4 separate regions of the Homo sapiens genome follow, and all the other regions are linked to region 4. The links are contacts of gene promoters, found by promoter capture Hi-C in blood cells and fetal thymus (Javierre and others, 2016). All regions are on one chromosome and are shown on one strand. Each heading gives the region's core, a stretch centred on a gene start or on the middle of the fragment in contact. The rest is flanking DNA. Distances are from core to core; before and after follow the strand shown.

What was found. Contacts are between HindIII fragments. The CHiCAGO score rates a contact against its expected background, and 5 or more counts as called.
Region 1: a contact is called between a fragment that was not itself captured here and the fragment with the promoter of RNF43 in region 4, in 1 of 17 cell types (M1 macrophages). The highest score is 5.5, in M1 macrophages.
Region 2: a contact is called between a fragment that was not itself captured here and the fragment with the promoter of RNF43 in region 4, in 3 of 17 cell types (M2 macrophages, neutrophils and monocytes). The highest score is 5.9, in M2 macrophages.
Region 3: a contact is called between a fragment that was not itself captured here and the fragment with the promoter of RNF43 in region 4, in 1 of 17 cell types (M2 macrophages). The highest score is 5.1, in M2 macrophages.

What each region holds. Positions count from the first base shown.
Region 1 is chr17:58,168,957-58,172,424 of GRCh38, reverse strand. OR4D2 (olfactory receptor family 4 subfamily D member 2) reads right to left here. Exons shown (of 2, transcript NM_001004707.4): 2 at 1,309-2,787. The coding sequence starts at 2,769. The coding sequence ends at 1,846. Among named protein-coding and RNA genes, the nearest start is that of OR4D2, 3.7 kb to the right of the region's middle. The HindIII fragment of the contact is 727 bases long and covers 1,238-1,964 here.
Region 2 is chr17:58,248,206-58,252,035 of GRCh38, reverse strand. LPO (lactoperoxidase) reads right to left here. Exons shown (of 13, transcript NM_006151.3): 5 at 2,859-2,976; 6 at 2,341-2,470; 7 at 1,415-1,621. It overlaps LOC124904038 (a long non-coding RNA gene), which reads left to right and starts at 2,952. Exons shown (of 3, transcript XR_007065862.1): 1 at 2,952-3,094. RefSeq lists enhancers at 2,487-2,556, 2,687-3,252. The HindIII fragment of the contact is 3,901 bases long and covers 1-3,377 here.
Region 3 is chr17:58,185,552-58,189,331 of GRCh38, reverse strand. No RefSeq gene overlaps it. Among named protein-coding and RNA genes, the nearest start is that of EPX, 5.3 kb to the left of the region's middle. The HindIII fragment of the contact is 2,529 bases long and covers 1,188-3,716 here.
Region 4 is chr17:58,415,086-58,419,005 of GRCh38, reverse strand. RNF43 (ring finger protein 43) reads left to right here and starts at 1,472. Exons shown (of 10, transcript NM_017763.6): 1 at 1,472-1,989; 2 at 3,044-3,680. The coding sequence starts at 3,429. The HindIII fragment of the contact is 6,426 bases long and covers 1-3,920 here.

The DNA.
Region 1 (3,468 bases), core at 352-2,851, 250 kb after region 4:
GGGGACATTTCTTCTTTCAGGCAGTCATGATGCTATCTGTGGATTAAGGCAAGAACAGTTCTCCTGCCAGGGACCCCAAGAAGGTAAGGAAGCTGGTGGGCCACCTCAATTTCAGTTTTTCCAGTGTAGAAACTGTAGTTGGGAGGAGATTTTTTGGCACTTGGTGCTGGACAGAATGGGGATGAGGGGTGTCCCAGATGTGGAAGTCTGATTCTCCTATCAGCTGCTTGGACTTTTTTCATCCCTCTGTGGCCCCAAGAACTGTCTCACTCTTATACTTGAGCTCTGGGTTGTTTCTGGTGTAGATCTCAGTGCTATATATTTGTTTTTGGTTCTGTGGAAGTCGGGGAGTGAATCCAATTTTCCTCTATGATGGCATTTCGGAATCAGAGGTCTAGAGATATTATAGGTCAATTGAAATCATCCAGTCTAAGGAGCAAAAAGAAGAATAAACGAAAATGAACATAGGCTCAGAAGCCTGTGAGACACCATCAAGGATACCAAGACACACACATAATGAGAATCCTGGAAGAAGAGGAGAGAAAGGCGCAGTAAAAATAGTTTAGGCAATAATGGTCACAACTCCAACATGGAGAAACCCCATCTCTACTGAAAATGCAAAACTTAGCTGGGTGTGGTGATGAGTGAACTCCGGCCTCGGCAGCAGAGTGAAACTTCGTCTCAAAAAAAGCACTCTCCAATAGCCAAAACCTGGAAACAACCCAAATAAACTTATTTTCACAGTGGAATATTCTACAGCAGAGCAAATGAATGAATTAGAGCCAAACATCAACATGTTATGTTAGAAACATAACATGGAGTGAAAAAAGCAAATCCCAGAATATTATGTACAGTACAATATCTTTATAAAACTCCAAAGTAGCAAAACAATATACTGTTTATGTAAAAAAAGTGATGAAACTATTTTATACAAGCAATGAAGTGATAAACATGAAATTCAACAGAGTGATTTCTTCTGGATAGGAATCAAGGTGAACACAATGGAGAGGACAATACAGGTGAAGGCAAGTTATTGGTAACTTCTGGTTCTTGAATCGAGTAGTGTATACATGAGCATTTATACATAATGACATAAGTTTCATAATGTGCATGCATTGCCCATGATCTTTTATTCAAAATTTGTATATTATATTAAAATGTAAATATAGAGAGAAAAAGCTTGAATACTCATAATAATTTCATATTTGAAAATAAAATACAATCATTTTTAAAAGCTTGGAAGATAACATATAGTTATATGATTTACTTGTTGTTTTATCACAAAATTTTTTTATTTGAATCTCATAACAAACATAGAATATTTTAGGGGCACATACTAATTTAAGCAAATTGGTGAGGGAGAAATCATGAGGCCAAGAAAAGCTGGGTGGCTTACTCGAAGTCATCAGTTTGGTCAATGATGGGTCAGGGCCTCTAATTTAGAGCTTAAGACTCCAAATTCTGTGCTGTTCCCAACAACCCAGACTCACACCAAAAGGAAATATTGGGAAGAGAGCTCAAAATACGGAAAATAGAAATGTTCGCACAGGGGAAATGCTGTCAACAGGAAACTGTCCACCAAGAAGGTGAAAAGGAAGGTGTGGTTTTCAGGGGCCATGTGAACAATTCTCATTGTTGCGAGTGTGTTAAAACTCTTTATCACAAACCTTAACCACCAAAGAGGATACTTTCTTTTTTCCTAAAACACGAAGTTGCTTAGTTTCAAAATTCATTCCCTGCTATGATGAACCTCAACACACTATGAAGAGAGCAAAGGTAGTAGCTCCCTCTCCACTTCACAAAGGGAAAACAAAGCCAAAGAGAAGAAACCTACCATTGTCACTCTCAAACCAGCCGGTGTCTCCCTAATCTTCTCACTGCTGCCTGCATGTCCTGGTTCCTCAGGGTATAGATCATGGGGTTGAGCATGGGGGTCATGACTGTGTGGCCGATGGACACAAGCTTGTCCATAGGGAATGGAGTGAAGGGCCGGGCATAGAGGTAAATGCTTGGAACGAAGATCATGGAAACCACGATGATGTGGGTGGTGCAGGTGGAAGCTGCCTTCCTTCTTGCCTCCCCTGGATGTGACCTCAGCATCACCAGGATGAATAAGTAGGACATCAGGAGGAGGAAGAACCAGACGACATCCAGCAGCCCACTGTTGGAGATCTTGAGGAACTCCAGCAGTGAGGTGTCAGTGCAGGCAAGTCTCAGTACTTGGGGAACATCACAGTAGAAGTTATCCAAAATGTTGGGGCCACAGAAGGGCAGTGGGAGCATCAGAGCCAGCTGGACAATAGAGTGGACAAAGCCTCCCACCCAGGTGGCTACCACCAGCCCCACCCAGAGCTGAGTGTTCATGACGGTGACATAGCGGAGGGGCCGGGAGATGGCAATGAGGCGGTCAAAGGCCATCACTGAGAGGAAGAAGACCATGGCACCTCCCAAAAAGTGGAAGAAGAAGATCTGACCCATGCAGCCCTGGTAAGAGATGGTTTTCTTCTCAGAGAGGAGGTCCACTAGCATTTTGGGAGCAGTGACTGAAGAGAAACAGAGGTCTAGGACAGCCAGGTTTCGGAGCAGAAAGTACATGGGTGTGTGGAGCTGGGAATCAGAGGTCACTGTGATGATGATAAGGATGTTTCCCATAACAGTGGTGATGTAGACAAACAGGAACATTAGAAACAGGAAACGCTGGAGCTCCCGAGTCTGCGAGAGCCCCAGGAAGACAAAGTCTGATACCCACGTGAGGTTCCCTGTTTCCATGGTGTTTTCTCCATACACCTGAAGAAAATGAACCACAGACACAGATACATGAAGTCACTACTTTCCCTTTCAGGGCTCAGGGGCTCAGAACCAAGGTTTTAGGCCCATATGATGAGCATCCTTATGTGTAGACCATTATACTAGGTGCTGTCTTGTCTCTGGATCGTTTACAAGTGGGTGCTGGAATATACATTCCTGAAATCTTAACGCCATCCAGAAGTATATACAACCTGCCTTTCAAAGATTCATATAGTGGTGGGAAGACACTTGGAGTCAGATACATCTGAAGTCAAATTTCAGGTCTTTCATTTCATTGTGATTTGACCATGAGTAACTTACTTAATCTTTCTGGGCCTCAGTTTTCACGGGAATTTGTAAGGTAGAAATAAAAATACCTGCTTTGTAGAATTTTCTGAGGACTTAAGTAGAATGATAGATATAAAGTTCCTAAAACAGTGTATGGAATAATCAATGGCAATTACTCACCTGTGTGAATTCTCTTAATCTAAAGATATCCTCTCTTCCACTCTGTAATAAGATTCTTTGCCAATTATTTTTCACATGACATTTAATACATCATCGTGTTAATGGATTTTCCTTGTCTATATTTTCCCTCCACAATTCAACTATTAAGTCCAAAGCCTATATCTGGATCTCACAATTTATTTGTGCCCTGCAGTACCCATTCTTAATGACAGT
Region 2 (3,830 bases), core at 178-2,677, 170 kb after region 4:
CTGACATTACACACCCTGGGCTCATAATATCCTGAAGTTCATTACATCCTGTTGTGTGAAAGAACTGAGGGTAATCATTCAGTCCTCACAGTGAGGGCTCCAAATTTCTGGTGAGGAGGGAGTATTGAGCTCCCTGGACAGGAAAGCAGGACACGAGGTGGGAACAGGTTTGTTAATAATTACTACTAACAACAGCTGCCATGTATTTATTTTGGACTTACCATGTGCCAGGAATTATGCATACTTTAACTCATCTCAGTCCTCAAAAAAACCCTGTAAGGTGGACAATTCAGTTCCATTTTATAGATGAGAAAACTGGGGCTCAGAAAAGTTAAGTAAGTTGCCTAAGAACTTATACACTGGAAGGGAAAGATGTAGGATTCAGATCATTGGCTTCATTCCACAGTTTATGCTCTTTATACCACAGCACATAGCCTCGATTTATTCTTTGAGTGAAGAAATGACTCTCCAACTGTAATACCCATGAATAATAAGAAAAGATGCATTGCTGCAAGCTCCTCTCCCTTCCGGATGGAAATCCCTACAAATCCCTGCTGCTCACTCGGATTCATCCAGGTTTCAAGTCCTTCTGAGTGGAGTTGAAGTCATCCTCCACGATGATGTACAGCAGTATAAACTTTATCATGTATAAAATGAATCTCTGTTGATCTTGGTAAAAATGTAGAATCTATTTCCTAACATCTTGGGTGAGACTTGAGATTTTGCATTTTTTTTTTCTTTTTCTTTTTTCTTTTTTGAGTTGGAATCTTGCTCTGTTGCCCAGGCTGGAGTGCAGTGGCGTGATCTCGGCTCACTGCAACCTCCGCCTCCCAGGTTCAAGCGGTTCTCCTGCCTCAACCTCCTGAGTAGCTGGGACCACATGCATGTGCCACCTCGCCAGGCTAATTTTTGTATTTTTAGTAGAGACGGGGTTTCACCATGTTGGCCAGGCTGGTCTCAAACTCTTGACCTCAGGTGATCTGTCCACCTCAGCCTCCCCAAGTGCTGGGATTATAGGCATGAGCCGCCTCGCCCAACTGAGATTTTACATTTCTAATAAGCAGGTTTTACCAATGCTGCTGGGTCGGGAATGTAGACAACCTTCTCCAGTGTTCCCATTCTGCTATCAGTAGTTTACTTGTCCAATTCCCACACTGGCCCTTTGTTCTTGAGAGCAGGAGCGGTGTCCTGTTCACTTTGGAATCCTCAGCGCTTAGTGCACTGCCTGGTATGGGGTGGTCAATGTCTATTTACTGAATAAACGGATGAGTGAACGAATGGACACGTGAGGCATGGGAAACTACCAAATCAGTATCCCAGATCTATCCAGAGATCCTAGCTGATGAGCTGGGAATGTCTGCTACATCAGGGTGGGCAAGGGGCTAGTCAGAGATGCCTAGCTGCAGGGCCGTACCATGATGGGGAAGCAGTTGTCTCCCTGGATACAGTACTCATCACACTGGGCTTTGGAGTACTCGCTACTCCCCAGCTCGGTGTCAGGGGCAAAGTCCAGGTCATGATCCACAATCTGACCCCACTGCATGAAGAGCAGGGACCTGTTTTGGTCCAGAACACCCTCCTCATTCAGATAGCCAACAATCTTGTTAGATACCTCCCGGGCCTACAGATGGAGAGAGAAGGGGAGGGCAGATTAGAGGAAAAAGTGCTTTGAGGATTCAGATGCAACTACAGCTTATTAACTACCTACCATGTTACAAGTGCACTTAATCCCTACAAGGAGTTTGTGAGGTGGGTGGCATTAGCCTATTCTGTAGAGGGGGAGATTGAATCCTGGACAGGTGAAGTCAGTTCTCCAAGGTCCTGCCGCTACAAAGGGACAGGGATGGGATTGAACCCAGATCCGTATGACTTGATGATTTGCCAAGCCGGTGCCCTTTCCACTAAGAGAGGGAAAACAAAGACAGGCTGCCTCTGAAATGCGAGCTACGGAGGTGCCAGGTGTCCAGGAATAGGAGAGGGGCTCTGGGTAGGGGCTGCCAGCTCGATAAGGCCAACAAATAGGACCTCCAGGCAAACAACAGCTGATGCACTCCAGGGGCGGGGGCTGGGGTAAGTGCGAGCGGGATGGGGCAGGGAGGCCATCTGCCCGGGAGACCCCAGGGTATCTGGCCTGCGGCGGCCAGAACGTGACCGCCACGTGGCCGGGCTCCGGGCTCCGAGCTCTGCTGCCCTCTAGCGGAAGGTGGGGGTCTGTGCAGATCTCCATCGCGCACCCCTGCTGCCCCCACCGATCCCTCCTCCTCCTTTCACTGCGTGTTTGGGTAGTGCATCCCGTCCCCTCTGGCTCCCATCCTTCACCCCGGCCCGGCCTGCCCTCACCAGCGGGAGAGGGAAGCCGTTGCGCGTCTTCCCCGGCGTCCAGCCGAAGGGCAGGGAGAGCCCGTCCTCGTACTCCGCGGGCAGCCAGCGCGCCAGAGCCCTGTTGGCGGCGCCCAGCGCAGGCTTCCTCCTGAAACCAGCACGATCCTCGCTGAGCTTCGGCAGGCCGGCTCCGGGGCTCCAAAGCCCAGGACCCCATGGGGGAAGGAGCCTCTGCTCGAGGCGGAGGGGACGCAGAGAAGGGGGCCTCTCAAATTTGGGGTCTCTGAACTGCGCCCACCCCCTGAAGGCGCGGGGCTCCCCCGCCCCGGGGAAAGGTGCCGCTTCCAGAGACACACAGTGGGCTGGAGGGAGAGGGCTGGAGACGCGCGATCTTGAGAAGGTGGGGAAGGTGGGAACGCCAGCCCAGGTGGGCAAGGCAGTGGCAGATCTGCCTAGAGTGCCCAAGGGACAAAGGCCTTGGCAGGGCGGGGCGGAGTGGCTGGAATGGTCGGCCCCCACACCCCAAGCCCCGCCACCTGTTATTGCAGTCTCCCGTAATGGTGCGGTAAGGGCTGCACGGGTCGCATCTCACCACGGGAGCAGGAGCACCACAGCCCACCTCCAGAGACAGTGAAGTCAAGTCCAGGCTGGGATCTGAAACAGAAGGGACCCCAAAGGGACTGAGTTCTTTCTCCATTCACAGGCACCCGTGGGAGGCAGGAAATGGAGACCAGAGGTGAACCTGCATGTTTTGGAATGCATTCCATTCTAAGTAAGCGTTTCTCAAGTGGTTTCTCAATTAATCTGACAGCACATTAAGGTAATACATTTTATTCCCATTTTACAGGGAAGAAAATGAGAACACAATGTTCAAGAGACTTGCCCAAGGCCACACAGAGTAACTGGGAATGTCCCCAGAATTGCTAGTAATTCCTGGTATACCAGGTCCAGATTCATTTGAATTGACAGATCTTTCTTTTAGAATGGAAATACCCCGGGAGGTTAAGCATATGTTAGTATGAGTTAGTGTGATAAGACTGCTTTCTTCTAAAGCTTCGTTCACATCTGAAGTACCAAGCAAGCAGGGACATAGCTAGGATAGAGGTTGGGAAGGGACAGGTAATTTTTCAGTGAGGGGCAAGGGTTGTGGGAGGAGTGACAGAGTAGGGGGGCTTTAGGCATCAGAGTGTTCAGTGTGGGCACAGAGTGGAGAGAGATGCCCACTTCTGAACGCATACCCTCATCCACCCTGGCGTCTGCAAGGGCAGGGAGGTGAGGGAATCTGGCTCATGGGGGCTTCTTCCGGGGGGCCATCTCTGAAAGGTGGCAGGATTTCAGCTCTCCGAACCTTTTGTATTTCAGAGGTCAAAGTGCTTCCTACTTCTTACCTTGTCCCAGTTTCCTTCTTTTGGAGCTTTGGAATTTGCCCAACTCCTGGGCCAGGTATCCCCCCTCACTTGATGTTTTCCCAGGGAGAACCTGCAGCCTTTTCCTCCTGTCAGGACCAA
Region 3 (3,780 bases), core at 1,203-3,702, 230 kb after region 4:
AGGCAAGGGCCCCCTGCCCTCTGTGTCCCCCTCGTGGGCTTTTCATCGTGCCCACTGGGATTTCATTGGCAAGATTTTCCTTAGCATTAAGTGTTGTGCAGTAGCAACCTGGAGTATCTGACACTGGAAATATACACACACACACACACACACACACACACACACGTACACACACACACACACACACATATATATATATAGAGAGAGAGAGAGAGTCTTGCTGTGTCACACAGGCTGAGTGCAGTGGCGCAATCTTGGCTCACTGCAATCTCTGCCTCCTGGGTTGAAGTGGTTCTCCTGCCTCAGCCTCCCAAGTAGCTAGGACTACAGGCACCCCCCACCATGCCCAGCTAATTTTTGTATTTTTAGTAGAGATGGGTTTTCGCCATGTTGGCCAGGCTGGTCTCAAACTCCTGACCTCAGGCAATCTGCCTGCCTCGGCCTCCCAAAGTGCTGGGGTAACAGGTGTGAACCACTGCACCTGGCCTGGGAACAGATTATTTTTTGATACCCCCTCCTCTACACAACAAAATAATTTTTAGTAATACTCGTTAAATGAAGCAAGTCATAATAATGGCCAACAAAGAAATATGTAAAAGTTCTCTTTTAGTGAATTTTATGTATAATCATGCCAGTAGAGACATAACAAAATAAACAAATAAATAATATACAAAAGAAAAGTATAATGAATTAATACTTTTAAATTACATGAATGCATTTTAAATAAAGGGGAAATCTACATACATATTTGTAGTTTTAATATTTAATATGTCATTACATTTTCTGTCTTCTTGATCCATTCATTAGTTTTAAAATGAACAATTACAAACTTAGAAGAATAAATTAGATCTTAAAGTAATTATTCAAATTCAGTACAATATTTCATGTATGAAGTAAAATTTGCACTTAAAAATCAAGTTCTGTCTCCTCATCTTTACAATCACTGTGCTATCATTGTTTATATCGAACGAGCTGTTTAAATGCAAGAATCTACAGTGCTAACAGGGGCAGGAGGCGCACGTTGCACCAAAGACCGCTCAGAGGAATCTGAGCCATCAGCCCATCCTCAGAGGGAACATACTCAGCCAAGCGAGCCACTGTATGACTGGGAATTCTCCCAACCAACTTCCACATGGAAGACAGTGCTTCTTAAAGGATAAGCAATAAAAGTGCATTAACTTGAAGCTTCCACATATTACTAAGCCCAATGGTAATCACAGCAATGGTTTAGAATCTAGACCAACACAAGATTTCTTTGGGGAGCAGGATTTGAGCTCTGAAATTATGTAAACTTGCCCCTGCATGGTGATCATCGTAAGCAGCCTGACCTTTTATCTGTGTTGTTATTTCTTGTAAACTTCCTATAGATGACGAACCCCTTATTTTCTGCCCTGGAACGGGTGGCTTCCTCTGCCCTGTCCTTGGTACTGGCATTTGTCCCGTCTAATTACCTTTGCTAAGTGACAAGTTGGGAGGCTTTCGTGTCCTTCCATACCCTTGCCCCACCCCGCCTTCAACACACTCTGGTTTCCCAGGGAGAGGGAAGAGGAGAGCACTGGAGGTAGAGAAGGAATTGCTCATGGGTGTCCTGGGATGAGCCCAGCCCGTCCAGGGTCCTAGTGGGCAGGGTCACAGTCTGTGGGGTCTATTCATGATATTCCTTCAGCAGCAGTACAGGGAACTCCAAATCCTTCCATGGCTTCCTAGGCCCTGGAGGACTTCTCCAGCCTCTGCCCTCACCTCTTCCACCACCCTTCCTCCACACTCCAGCTTCATCCCCCGAAGGTTTCTGATGCACCGTGTTCCCCTCTCCCCTGGGTCCTTGCACGTGTTCCCTTTGCCTGATTAACTTCTACTCATCTTCCCAACTGAGCCGCGTCATTACTTTCTCCAGGTAGCCTTCTCTCATCCCTTTCCTTTTCACTCCCCAGATATGATCTGAATTAGACACCCCATTTTTGTCTGTGGGGCACCTGATGCTGATACTTCCCTCAACACATACTGTGCTGTACTGAAGGCATGCTGTCACCGTGTCCGTCTCCTGGACTGGCCACTGATCCCCAGTCCTGGTCTCATTTACAGCTGCATACCTTGTACCCACCACAGGGTTGGGCCCAGGGCCAGCGCTCAGAAATGTTTGTGGAACATGAGTGAACCACGTCACAGACTAACTCTGTGAGTCCACACACCCTTTTTCACCCTGGAAAGGAAGACAGGTCCCCTTCCCTCCCCACATCCCAAATCTCCTTCCTTCTCCAGATGGCAGTTCAGCCACTCCCAGGGTTTTGACCTTGATAAGCCAGGTGGGTGGGGTGGGGCAGGGGTGGGGGTGCCACCACGAGGTGATGTAGAGAACGAAGAGCCTTAGGGTGGGCACCAAGTGGGTCCTGAGGCCATCTCCATTGCAAGGCTGGCCAGGTGGGTGGTTAGAGCGGGTGCTGTCCAAGGGAGGTGAGGATGGACAACCCACTGGACATGGAGGCCACCTGCTGGGGACATCACTTGGGACACCTCCCAGGGCTGGGCATGTGGGAAGCCCGGCTCCCTTCAAGGCCTGTGTGAGCTCTTCCCTCAATAAGTGGAGTCCAGAACCCGCTGCTGGGCCTGGGCCAGGCTCCCTACAGGCCTGGGACCTGGTTGGACTTCAGAGGCTTGGGAGTTGTGTGGGAGAGCTCTTCTCCAGAAAGGGAAATGGGCAAAAGAAATGTCCAAGACCAAGCTACACAGGAGGAAATGTTTGTAATGAGACCCACCAGAAAGACTGCTCTTGGGGCGACAGGAGAAAACAAGGCTGCTTGGAGACTGGGAATGAAGGGGACAGAGAAGGTAGAGGTGTTTTTGGGGAAGAGGGCCCTGACCAGCCGGCCCTCTGGTTGCTGCTGTCCCTCCCTCCCTGGTGGCTATGGGAGTATGAGGCCTTGGGAGATCTGGCACCACTGGTCCTGTAAACATCCAGTCGCCTCTGCTGCAGTTGCTCCTAAGGAAAGGGAACCCGCAGGGATTTGCACAGTCTGGCACCTGCCAGTTTCCTCTCCAGTGTCCCATCCCCTCACCCTCTATTCCTCTGCCCTCTGAACCCACTGGCTTACAGTCCCCAAAACAGGCCTATTTCCTTCCTGTTTTGGGTCATAACCATGAAGCCTCTTCCGTCTGTTTGCCTGGCCAACTCTTATTCATCCTCTGGGTCTTATCCACAGAGAGCTTTTCTGTCCCACCTCCACAGTCTGGTCCTTCCCATTCCTTACTTTTGTAGCTCCCTTCCTAGAGAGTAACATCATTAAACACATATCTCTAGGGTTGGATTTGACTAAGCTCCAGTCCCTGCAGGTCTGTGAGTGTCACAGAAAACAGGTGTGTGCCTGTTTTGATGCTCACTGTAACCTCATTACCTAACACAATACCTGGCAGAGGCTGAATATGTATTTGTGGAATGAATGCATTTGCTCTCACCTTGATTTTCATGGCTGGCTCTTGAGTCAGGGAATGGATTGTGCCTGTACATCCGTCAGGATTCAGTGCCTTTTGTCAGGGGCATTGTTCTTTCGGGGCCAGGCCAGCCCTGGGTCAGTGGATGCTGTGGCAGGCCTGGCCCTGCCTGGTCAGTATCCAGCCCCTAGACCATGAGGGAGCTTTCCTTCCTGGGCATCTTTCAGCTGCAATACCCAATATCCTCCACACCTGCCTACCCTCCCCTGGCCAGCTCAAAACTTCAAGCTTCTGCTTTCACAAGAACCGTCCATGGTGGAGCTGCTGGCCACAGGCCTGATTAGATCTCTTTAT
Region 4 (3,920 bases), core at 223-2,722:
ATTTGCAGGGTGTGGTGGGACGCACCTGTGATCCCAGCTACTCTGGAGGCTGAGGTGGGAGGCCATGAAGGTCAAGGCTGCAGTGAGCCATGATGGCACAACTGTGCTCCAGCGTGGGTAACACAAGACCCTGTCTCAAACAACAAAAATAAACAAAAAATTTATTTTCGAATTTGTCTTTGATCTAGGTTAGTTATTAGATCTGAAATTCTGAAACTACTGTCATAAACCTTATCTACAGGGGAAACAATGTTGAAGGTCAATAGGCTACTCATCCTTTTTGCTTTCAGAGGCATTATGTCATTTAATCTTTACAACAGACCTATCGTAATTATTATCATCAGCATTTTACAGATGATCAGAGATTCGTTTTTACATGAGGTAAGAAACACATAAAATTTACTATCATAACCATTTTTAAGTGTACAGTTCACTAGATTTAACTATATCCACATTGTTGTTCATTTGTATAATTTTGAAAGTTTATGGCAGCGGTTCAGAAATAAAATGTCTCACCACAGTCAAATATAATCTGGTAATTTGAAACTTCAAATGTTATAAATGTATTAGAAACTGTTGTATTATTTCTAATGGCAGGGTAGTAATAAGGATTATAGTTCATGAATGTGGTAATTAGCCAGAAATTCATTTTCTTTTTGCCTATGTTCTTCTCATTAATCATATTTTACCCTTTGGCTTGTATTTATGACATGGACTTATTTGGAGTCTTACATTGAAGGCATAGGTCTGATCCATAGTATTATTTCACCTCCCAAAGATTGAAAAGAAAATAACAGTTGGATTCCAGACATCTGACATCAACCTGATTTGAAAGTTCCATATAGGCACAGTTTAGACAGAGCTACTGAATTTAAATTAGTAAGAGCTGAAGAAAAGCTAAGCATAAAATGGACAGAGCCCTTCCCAGGGTAGCAGACATAAGCAGCAATAAATCAGTAAGTACTAAAACACAGGATCACTTTATTCTGGCTTTCTGCCATTTATAGACACTCAAACTTGGAATGAGCAGAAATCCTTTTGAACTTATATTTGCAAAACCTTGTGTCCATTCTTTTATCTTCCGGATTACCTTTATTTTTTTCTGTTTATTTCCTCATACCATCATCTATGCTCTGTTGGGTGCAGAGTCTGCTTAGATATCTTTGAGTGGCCCTGATTTGCATGTGGTAGCTTGCTTACCCAGAGAAAGGTACTCGGGATCGAATTGGATGCAGTTTAGCTGTGGCTCAGTAGAGGGAGTAGAGGAGCTGAGGGAGGGGGGAGAGCGAAAGAACGGGTCTGGTTAAGTAAGTGTTGTGTGTGAGCACCAGGAGGAGGGGGGCAGGGTGGGGAGTGGTTGCCTCTAGCAGCTCCACCCTCACTTTGTCAGCAGGTAGAGAGCGTGATTGCAGTCCCAGGGGAGGGAGTCAGAGCTAGAACACCAATTACAAACCACAGGCTTCCTGCTCTAGGGAGTTGATCCAGAATTGTCTTTCTGAAAGGAAGCACTCGGAATCCTTCCGAACTTTCCAAGTCCATCCATGATTCAGAGATACTGCCTTCTCTCTCTCTGGGATTTTATGTGTTTCTGATAGTGAATTGTTGATGTATTTGCTACTTTGCTTCTTTTCTCTTTCAAGACTTGATCATTTTATATGCTGTTTGGAGAAAAAAAGAACTTTTGTTAGCAAGGAGGTTTCAGAAATGATTTTGGATTTTCTGTAAGTGTTTAATTTAGTTCTAGGGGACAGCATCTCTCATCCCGGAGTAAATTTCTGCCTTTGACCTGCATGGATTATTTTTTCAGGCTGCGGAATTTCTCGGCACCTACCTGTAGTATGGGGCACTTGGTTTGGTTGCAGAGTAAGAAGGTGGAAGAATGAGCTGTACTTGGTTAAGCAGTTGAAACCTTTTTTGAGCAGGATCTGTAAAAGCATAATTGAATTTGTTTCACCCCCGTGGATTCCAGTGGGCCCGACAGCGCAACAGGTTTGCAGATTTCTTTTGAAATTCCTTTTTCCCCCCTCCCTCTGCCTCAGCAAAAGAAAAGAATCCATATAACAGGTTCATGTTCAATTGCTTGGCTTTTCAGCACTTATTCTGAAGACTTTATAATATTTTTAAACTTGACCTTGGAACACAGAGGGCTTTGTGGGTGAGGTGTATTTATATTTACTTAAGGGTGCACATTTTAAAAATCTTATTCTGTGTTTGTACAAAGACGCAAATTTTCATAGTGCCTAGAAATAGCACAGATCTATTCTACTCAAGATTATTTGTATTTTTTCAGGGTATTCTACCTAGAGCCTGTGGTTAATCGCCTCCCTGCTCCCCCTACCTTTTATTCCCTACCCCCTCAGGGAATTTGGATACATGTGAGGAATAGTCCTTTGTTTTTCTTATGAACCTAGAAAATTACAGATCATAAAATCTGGATATTAAAGTAGTTTCCAAAAGCATCTCATGGGAAATCAAAGTGCTCGGCATTTCCGAGCTGGAGAATAAAATCAAGAATCCTTAAGAGAGAAAAGAAAATGGAGATGGAAATATGAATTTTAACTGGGAAAAATAATTGGAAAGCTAACCTTTTCAAATACTCTAATTATGAAAGTTGGAAAAGGTTGTGATGCTCAGGATTATCCTGTAATGTGTGAAGATACATAAATTAGCACCTAATTTATAGGCAAATTTTGGTAAAACACAAAAAATTATGGTATGTCTAAGTTCATGAAAAGTATGTAAATGCAGTGGGCCTAGAAACCTGGCCACACTGAAATACAGTTTAATGTGGAAACTTTTCTAAATACATATTGTAGCATCTTTGGACATCAACGTGTGGCCTGAAATTTTTATTATTGTTCCCTCTTCTCCTCCATTAAAAAAAAAATCTCCTTGTGGTATTTAGTCATTTACCATTAACACATATTATGGCTTAAAAAGGGCCATCCCTTCCTTTTCTGAGCTGGAGTTCTTCACGCTCACCTTTGATGCATGGCCTTAGCTGTTTACTTTGCCTTGTTTTGTTCATGAACATTGGGTTTAGTGCCTGGCAACTTGATGCATATGGAAGAGCAATGCCAAGTGATCTGACATAATACAAATTCACGAAGTGACATTCAATCACAAGCAAAGTTGGAAATTCCAAAGAGAAGTGGTGAGATCTTTACTAGTCACAGTGAAGATGGGAGAAAATGACATACCTGCAGCAGATGTGGGCTGAAAATATCCTCTTCTCTGCCCAATCAGGAATGCTACCTGTTTTTGGGAATAAACTTTAGAGAAAGGAAGGGCCAAAACTACGACTTGGCTTTCTGAAACGGAAGCATAAATGTTCTTTTCCTCCATTTGTCTGGATCTGAGAACCTGCATTTGGTATTAGCTAGTGGAAGCAGTATGTATGGTTGAAGTGCATTGCTGCAGCTGGTAGCATGAGTGGTGGCCACCAGCTGCAGCTGGCTGCCCTCTGGCCCTGGCTGCTGATGGCTACCCTGCAGGCAGGCTTTGGACGCACAGGACTGGTACTGGCAGCAGCGGTGGAGTCTGAAAGATCAGCAGAACAGAAAGCTATTATCAGAGTGATCCCCTTGAAAATGGACCCCACAGGAAAACTGAATCTCACTTTGGAAGGTGTGTTTGCTGGTGTTGCTGAAATAACTCCAGCAGAAGGAAAATTAATGCAGGCAAGTATAACTTTATTATATTTCACTTTCCATCTGTTTGAAATATGTCTTTCTTCTTTTGTCTCCCAAATGAAATACCATACACGGGCTTCTACTGCTTAGCTTTCTATTTCATAGAAAGAGTAGATACTGCCTTATTGGCATTCTAAATTTAGCAAATTATTATTTTATACTCTGGAGGAAATACATAAATCCTATATTTTAGAAGATTATCTGCTTATTTTAAACTGGTGTTGCATA